Linked DNA regions of Homo sapiens: region 2 is linked to region 1. Evidence: promoter capture Hi-C in 16 types of primary human blood cells and fetal thymus (Javierre and others, 2016). All regions are on one chromosome and are shown on one strand. The core of a region is centred on a gene start or on the middle of the fragment in contact, and the rest is flanking DNA. Distances in the headings are between cores, read along the strand shown.

What was found. Contacts are between HindIII fragments. The CHiCAGO score rates a contact against its expected background, and 5 or more counts as called.
Region 2: a fragment that was not itself captured here is called in contact with the fragment with the promoter of CCR1 in region 1 in 1 of 17 cell types (neutrophils); the score reaches 7.0 in neutrophils.

What each region holds. Positions count from the first base shown.
Region 1 is chr3:46,206,544-46,209,821 of GRCh38, forward strand. It overlaps CCR1 (C-C motif chemokine receptor 1), which reads right to left and starts at 1,770. Exons shown (of 2, transcript NM_001295.3): 1 at 1,739-1,770. The HindIII fragment of the contact is 1,401 bases long and covers 1,497-2,897 here.
Region 2 is chr3:45,927,687-45,930,964 of GRCh38, forward strand. The region is part of intron 16 of FYCO1 (FYVE and coiled-coil domain autophagy adaptor 1); the gene reads right to left. Among named protein-coding and RNA genes, the nearest start is that of CXCR6, 14 kb to the right of the region's middle. The HindIII fragment of the contact is 4,833 bases long and covers 1-3,278 here.

The sequences.
Region 1 (3,278 bases), core at 520-3,019:
AAGAGCAGCTAGTGCAAGCCTGATCCCATGAGTCCAGTTTCTGGGAAGGTTTGGCAAAGGCAAAGGCAAGTTGAGTCAACATTGTCAGGTGGCATTTTAAACCGAGTCACCTCCATACACCCCCTACCTCCAACCCATTTGTTATTTCCCCAACTTGTTAAGCCCCAGGCAACCACTCCAAGGCATGCTGTTCCTAAAGGGAGGTGATCTGGGGTGGGGCCCGAGAAGAGAAACCAAAGGACCATGTTGTCATCTAATCTGCCAGCCCTGCTGTAGTCTACTGCAGAAGTCTGCCTCAAGGCCACTGCACAGTGGTCAGCTATAGCCCTGGATCCTGGACCCTCCACTGCTAGTGTCCTCCAGCCTGGGAGTTGGTGAAGTCTCTGAGCAGAGATAGAGCAGTCTGTGATGGTGAAAGACACCCAGGCCTATGGTGCGCTGGCTGGCTTATACTGGTTTATAAATGCCAATTGCGTGCATCTCTTCCCCACTCCACATTCAGCATGTTGGTAGCTTGAAACTGACCACAGTGGGGGCATTTATACCATGAAAATCAACAAATGTTATAAAGCAGGGATCTTTTCTTCAGAAGAGTCAGTTGTTGAACATTTACCAGCACATCACTGCCCAGGCCCCACATTCTGAACAGTCCAGCACTGTCCCACTGCTCGGTGCGGGAACTAAAGGATCAGTGAGTGGCACATAGCCTGGTGCCAGGTTGTGCAAACTTTTGGGAGTTTCCATCTCTTCTTTGAAATCTGGGACCCACCAAGACCACCTATGAAGTAGATACCTATACGGAGCCACCATGCCCCTCTATCTTCAGAACAAAATCCTGACCTGTGTCTTTGTTAGTAGAGCAGAACAGATGCCCCCCAAGATCACCTGGCCAGCTCCTTGCCTTTGGGTGAGTGAAAGCCTACCTCTTCCAAAGATAGCAGTGCCAATTTTGAGGATCCTTGGTTCTAGTCTTCTTAAGAGATAGGTTCAGTATCAAATCATCCTTGCATCTGCCAAGATTTTTCTAGCTAATATTTCCCTCTTGCTATAATTTCTTCATACACCATGTTTGGTTTTCCTTTACATGGGGGAATTTGGCAAGCAATTTTTTTTTTTTTTTCAGACAGACTCTTGCTCTGTCGCCAGGCTGGAGTGTAGTGGTGCAATCTCAGCTCACTGCAACCTCCACCTCCCGGATTCGAGTGATTCTCCTGCCTCAGCCTCTTGAGTAGCTGGGACTACAGGCATGCGCCACCATGCCCGGCTAATTTTTATTTTTAGTAGAGACAGGGTTTCACCATATGGCCAGGATTGTCTCCATCTCTTGACCTCATGATCCACCTGCCTCGGTCTCCCAAAGTGCTGGGATTACAGCCGTGAGCCACTGCGCCCCGCCAAGTAATTTCTTATTGAATAGGTTTCCACAGAAAACACCTTTTGTCCCTTAGTACTGACTGACTTTCTTAATCAGTAACCAAAAGCCAATCCTTCAAGTAAGCTTCCTTTTTAGCAAAAAAGCCTATATTTCATCTGAGCACCCAGCTTTATAAATCCACCATTCTCAGTATTGCTACAGTATTAATTGCCTTGGAGATGCATCCATGGGCTACTTAGACATTTGCCCAGCCTACTCAAAGAATTCCCCCTACCTTTGAGGAGCCCCTAGCTGCATGCATGTCTTTGAACAACACTGCCCTCCACAGTAACAGATAAGACAGAAAAGACAAGTGACACTTACTCTGGTTCCAAGGGACTTTGTCCGTGAAGTCTTTGTTTCTGGGGCTTTCTGGGTTTTTATGAATTCAAGTTTCAAGATCCTGACCAAGTAGGAAGTACTCAGCTTCCTGTGTGATGATGGAGAATTGGCTCCAGTTTCACAGTCTTTCAAAATGACAAGAAAGGGACAAAGTTCTTCTTTTTGTGTGGTTTGGTGCTCATGAATGGCCACAACGCCCACCAGTGGCCACTTCCTGGAAGCCAAGTTAACTGCGAGGATTTTCTCTGCTCACTCTGAGCCTCTTGAGTCTTGGCCCTGGGAGCTCAGCCTTAAGGGAATTGGGGGCAGGTGAAGCTGAGTTGGGTGAGGTGGGTGGCAGTGAGATGTTCCCAGAATGTTTGGAGCAATTGAAGTGTGGGATGTGTGTATGTGGGATGGGGGCAGGGCATAGAGCTCTTGTGGTCAGCGGCAGACTTCTTTTTTTTCTTCTTCTTAAAGATTGTGAATGGAAGGATTTAAACTGGAACCCTGAGTCCTGTTCCTCAAAACTAACTGACATGGGTGCTCACAGAGGCAGCAGCTTCTCTTTGGCACCCTATGCCCCTCGGCTTCTGGGAGCTCATTGTCCCTCTGCTCTCTGCTCCCCAAGTCCCTCCCCACCAAACCTCAGAGAGTGGCTTTGCCCCAGGAACCTCCAGCATGAAGGGAATATAGGTCTGTTGGTTACATTTTGACCTTCCCTTTCTGATGCCCCATTCCTGTTTTACGTGATGGTCAAACATGGGCCAAGTTCAAATCCCAGCTCTCCACCTGTGACATGGGCAGATCACTCACCTTTCTAAGTCTTGGTTCCTACTCTGCTAAATGGGAGTATTGAATGCTTACCTCAGAGGAGAAGCACGAAGTCAACTTGTACATGAAAAATGTCAGAGTGCCTGGCACAGTGAAAAATGTCTGACAAATGATGAGTACTGTGACTCTCCTCACAACTGCCAACACCTACTCTGCCTCTGCCCTTGTGTCTTCTATAAAGTGGGGACACCCCTAACCTTCCTCACGGCATTGCTACAAAGCACTGTTTCAGAAATCATCAGTGTGAATGTGCTTTGAAAAGATCACTTGTCTCTTCATGGTTCAGTTTTCTTATCTGTAAAATGAAGAATTCAGACAAGATGGCCTAAGCTTGACATCTGATCATCACTCAGCTTCACCCCAAAGAAATAAATGGGGGTCTGCATGTGCCTGGCTATTTGCAGTACTTTGCTGGTGGATCAGTTTCCAAAGAGAACAGAGGCTTGTGAGGCCTGCCTTTTCCTTGATCCTGTCTAAAGTAAGGGACATGGTCAGTACCTCATCCTTGACCAGGCTTCCAGCTCTGCTCTAGGTTTCATTCCACAGAGGGGATGTACCAGGCAAATCTGCTTGTTCATTGAACAAATATTTATTCAGTACTCACAATGTGCCGGACATTGTGTTAGGTGCTTGGGATATAGTGGTGAAGAAAGAGGCTGGATCCATTCTTTGAGAGCTTATAGCTTAGGAAGGATCACAAACAATTAAC
Region 2 (3,278 bases), core at 544-3,043, 280 kb before region 1:
GGACTAAGGATCCCGGGAGAGTGAGGGGTTGGTTCTGTTTCTGTGATCCACAACCTAACAACTCTGGCCTGGTCTCAGACACTGCAGCAGGGGTGTATGGGAAGGAGCTGCTGGAGGGGAAGGCTTGCTGTTTGCATGGGGACCTTGGTGTGCCCACCCTGCACACCCTCGCACTCACTACCTTGATTACAAGCAACATCAAGAGCTCCTTAAGGCAGGTCCCCTGAAGAGGGCATGTTTAACATAGATTAATGTGCGTTCTTGAAAATGATACTCTTCATTTCTTTAAAACATCTTACTCTGTAGCCTTTTCATTCATTCCAGCTGTTTTTCATTCATTCCATTCACATGAAACATCTAGAATCAGCATATCCACAAAATAGATTAGTGGTCACTGGGGGCAGAGGTTGGGGAGTGACTGCTAATGGGCACAGAATTTCTTTTTTGGAGTGATGGAAAGAATCTAAAATTAGACAGTGGTAATGGTGGTACAACTCTGTGAATATACTAAAAACCATTAAACTGTACATTCCAAGTGCGTGAGTTATATCTCAATAAAGCTGTTTTAAAAAACAAAGTCAAGGGTCCTTGCTGTCAGCTGATTCCTCCTCTGACTCCCTCTGAAGCCCACCCCAACAGGCCATCGACCTCTGGCCAAAGACGGATCCTCTGCCCAGAGAGAGGACAGAGTCTGGATCCAATTCTCCACTTTGTCCCTGGGCCTCAGGCCAGCGGTGTGTACACTGGTAACCTGGTTCATAATTTCTTTCATCAAGTGCCTCCCCTAGATTCACACTCTCCAATCTCAGTGTCGAGTCTATGACTATAATGGAGGAAGTGGGTCTGGAGAGAGGGTGGCACAGGGTGGAGAGTGTCTGACAGGTGCCCCTAGAAACGGGGCTGGCCTTCTGCTGTGCTATTCCATCCACCTGGATGCTTCTCCTCAAGCCCACAGGTCCCTCGCCTCACCTCACAATGCTGCTTCTGGTTTCCTCCACTGTGGTCTTCATCATCGCCCAGGGGTCTCCTTTCCTCATCTCTGTTCCCCAGGCTGGGCTAGGCATCCTTCCCAGGGGTACCCACAGTGCCCACCCACCCCTGTCATGAAACCACCTGGAATCACAAATGTCTATTTATTAGAGTCTCTCTCTGATTACACAGTGAGCTCCTCAACGGGAGATCCCATGTTATCCCTTCATCTTTCTATCCCCCGTGGGCCCTACAGAGTCCAGTATACAGGACACACTCAATAAATGGTTGCAAATACACAGCATAATTCCTTGTGTCTATACCTCCGTAATCATGAAGTCTGAGTGCTGCAATTTGCACTGCATCTGTCATTTCCTCTAAGGCCCAGGCTGGTCAGGAGTGCACTCGGGGAGTCCCCGGGATAGATATTGAGGGCACATGTCTGGAAACAGGCTACCCTGGCCATGGTCTCTTTGGGGGACCTCAGGCAGAGATAACAGCCACCCCCATCTGTGGTTGGTGACAGTGGCCTGTGAAGGCAGAGGAGCACCTAAGCATCCTGTACACGGGCCCCTTCTGCCCCCTGGTGTCACTGTGGGGAAAGGCAGTGGGGCCCCCTGGAAGCTAGAGGAGGAAGGCTCAGTAGGTCCCCAAGTTCCTGATTCCTGGTAGAGCCACACAGGAACCCCAGGCTGCTGAGGACTCGGTGGGTAGGGACTGAGCAAGGGGAGAGGCCCACAGCCCAGCCACATATGGGCAGGCAAAACAGCAAAGGCCTGGATCCCTGATTTCGTCCCTTCCCTCCCTGCCACAAACACTCACGGTGTCTGATCTGGGTGGATTCAGGGCTGGGGGCCTGGTGGGTCTGGGGAACGTGATGGTGAGTGGCAAGGGCAGCTCTTGGCAGTGCTGCCGTTTGTTAGTGTGGAGCTGACAGGCATGTTGGCCGCACCAGGACCTCCTGGGTGGGGGCTCAGAACTGCTCAAGAAGGAAGGGCTCCAGAGGTAGGTAGGAGGAGCTGGCTACAAGCCCCAAAAGAATAAGATGGGCAGAGCGGTTTTAAATAAGACAGAATATGAGATTCCAATAAACAAGGCCAACCCAAGGGAGTAGAGTTACATTTTGAGAGTGAGTTTGAAAAGCAGAGAAATGACAAAAGCGATCCCTGCATTGAGCAGATTCCAACAGGGCAGGATGGCAGGAGAGCAAACCCAAACGGGTACGTGTTCCTCTATGGGATGCCAGCGCCACAGCAGGAACTGCTGTGTGGCCCAATGTGTCTCCTAGCTGGGCTCTCCTGCTCTGGGCCCTCCTCATCCCTCAGCCTCAAGCCCCTCGAGGGCACCCAGTGGACCAAACACACAAGGGACTATTAGATGTTTCTGCAAAGACTTCACAGAACTCTTGTTTCACATGACTTCAGCTAGCTTTTCCCTATCTTGATCCTTGCAATTCTTGCAAAATGGAGATTTCTGCAGTCATATTCCCAGACTAGGATCCATTTTCAGCTCCAGTCCAGCAGGCCCAACGGCTTTTACCATTTCTTTCACTCAGAATGATTCAAATGGAACTTGTGTTTCCATGCAAACCATCTCTCCCTCCCATATCCCTCTACACCCTTTCTCTGCAGAGATGCAGGCATCAAATTCAGACCTCAGGCATGGGTCTCCCTTCTCCTTGCCCCATACTGAATCAGCCACCCATGGAGCCCTGCCCAACCTCTGTCCCTGTGGTCTGGATTCCACCTCATCCTTTCCACTTTGGCTTCAACCCCCTGATCTACACCAGTGGTTCTCAACCTTGGCTGCTCATTGGAATCACTTGGAGATGTCTGGATCCCACCCCTAGAGACTCTAATTTGCAGCCAAGGTTGAGAACAACAGTCCGGGCACTGTCAACATTCCATGCCTAGAATGTCTTAGGAATTTATAAACTGGTACCTGCCACCAAGATTTCAAGCTCGACCACCCAAGTGACATTGGGGTTGTCTCTACTGACACCTTTCCGGGTTGAGATGCACCCTAAGCTAAAAACTAGAGGAAGAGAGGTCACCACCTCCCAAGGTGATCCATTCCTGCTTTGCACAGCTCTATTAGAAAATGATCCTTAAATTGAGTCATACGTCTGTATTCCTCTTTCACCTACCCATCTATCCCAAGGGCAGACTGTACCTGTTTCACACAGGTGTGACCTTCAGACATTTGAGAACAGCTTTCCAGAACTTCTGGGTCTTTCTCTCCCCAAACTGGACAAGGCCCAGGTGCTCTGCCTTCTCTGCATGATACTGCCCAGAACATTCCAAGTGAGG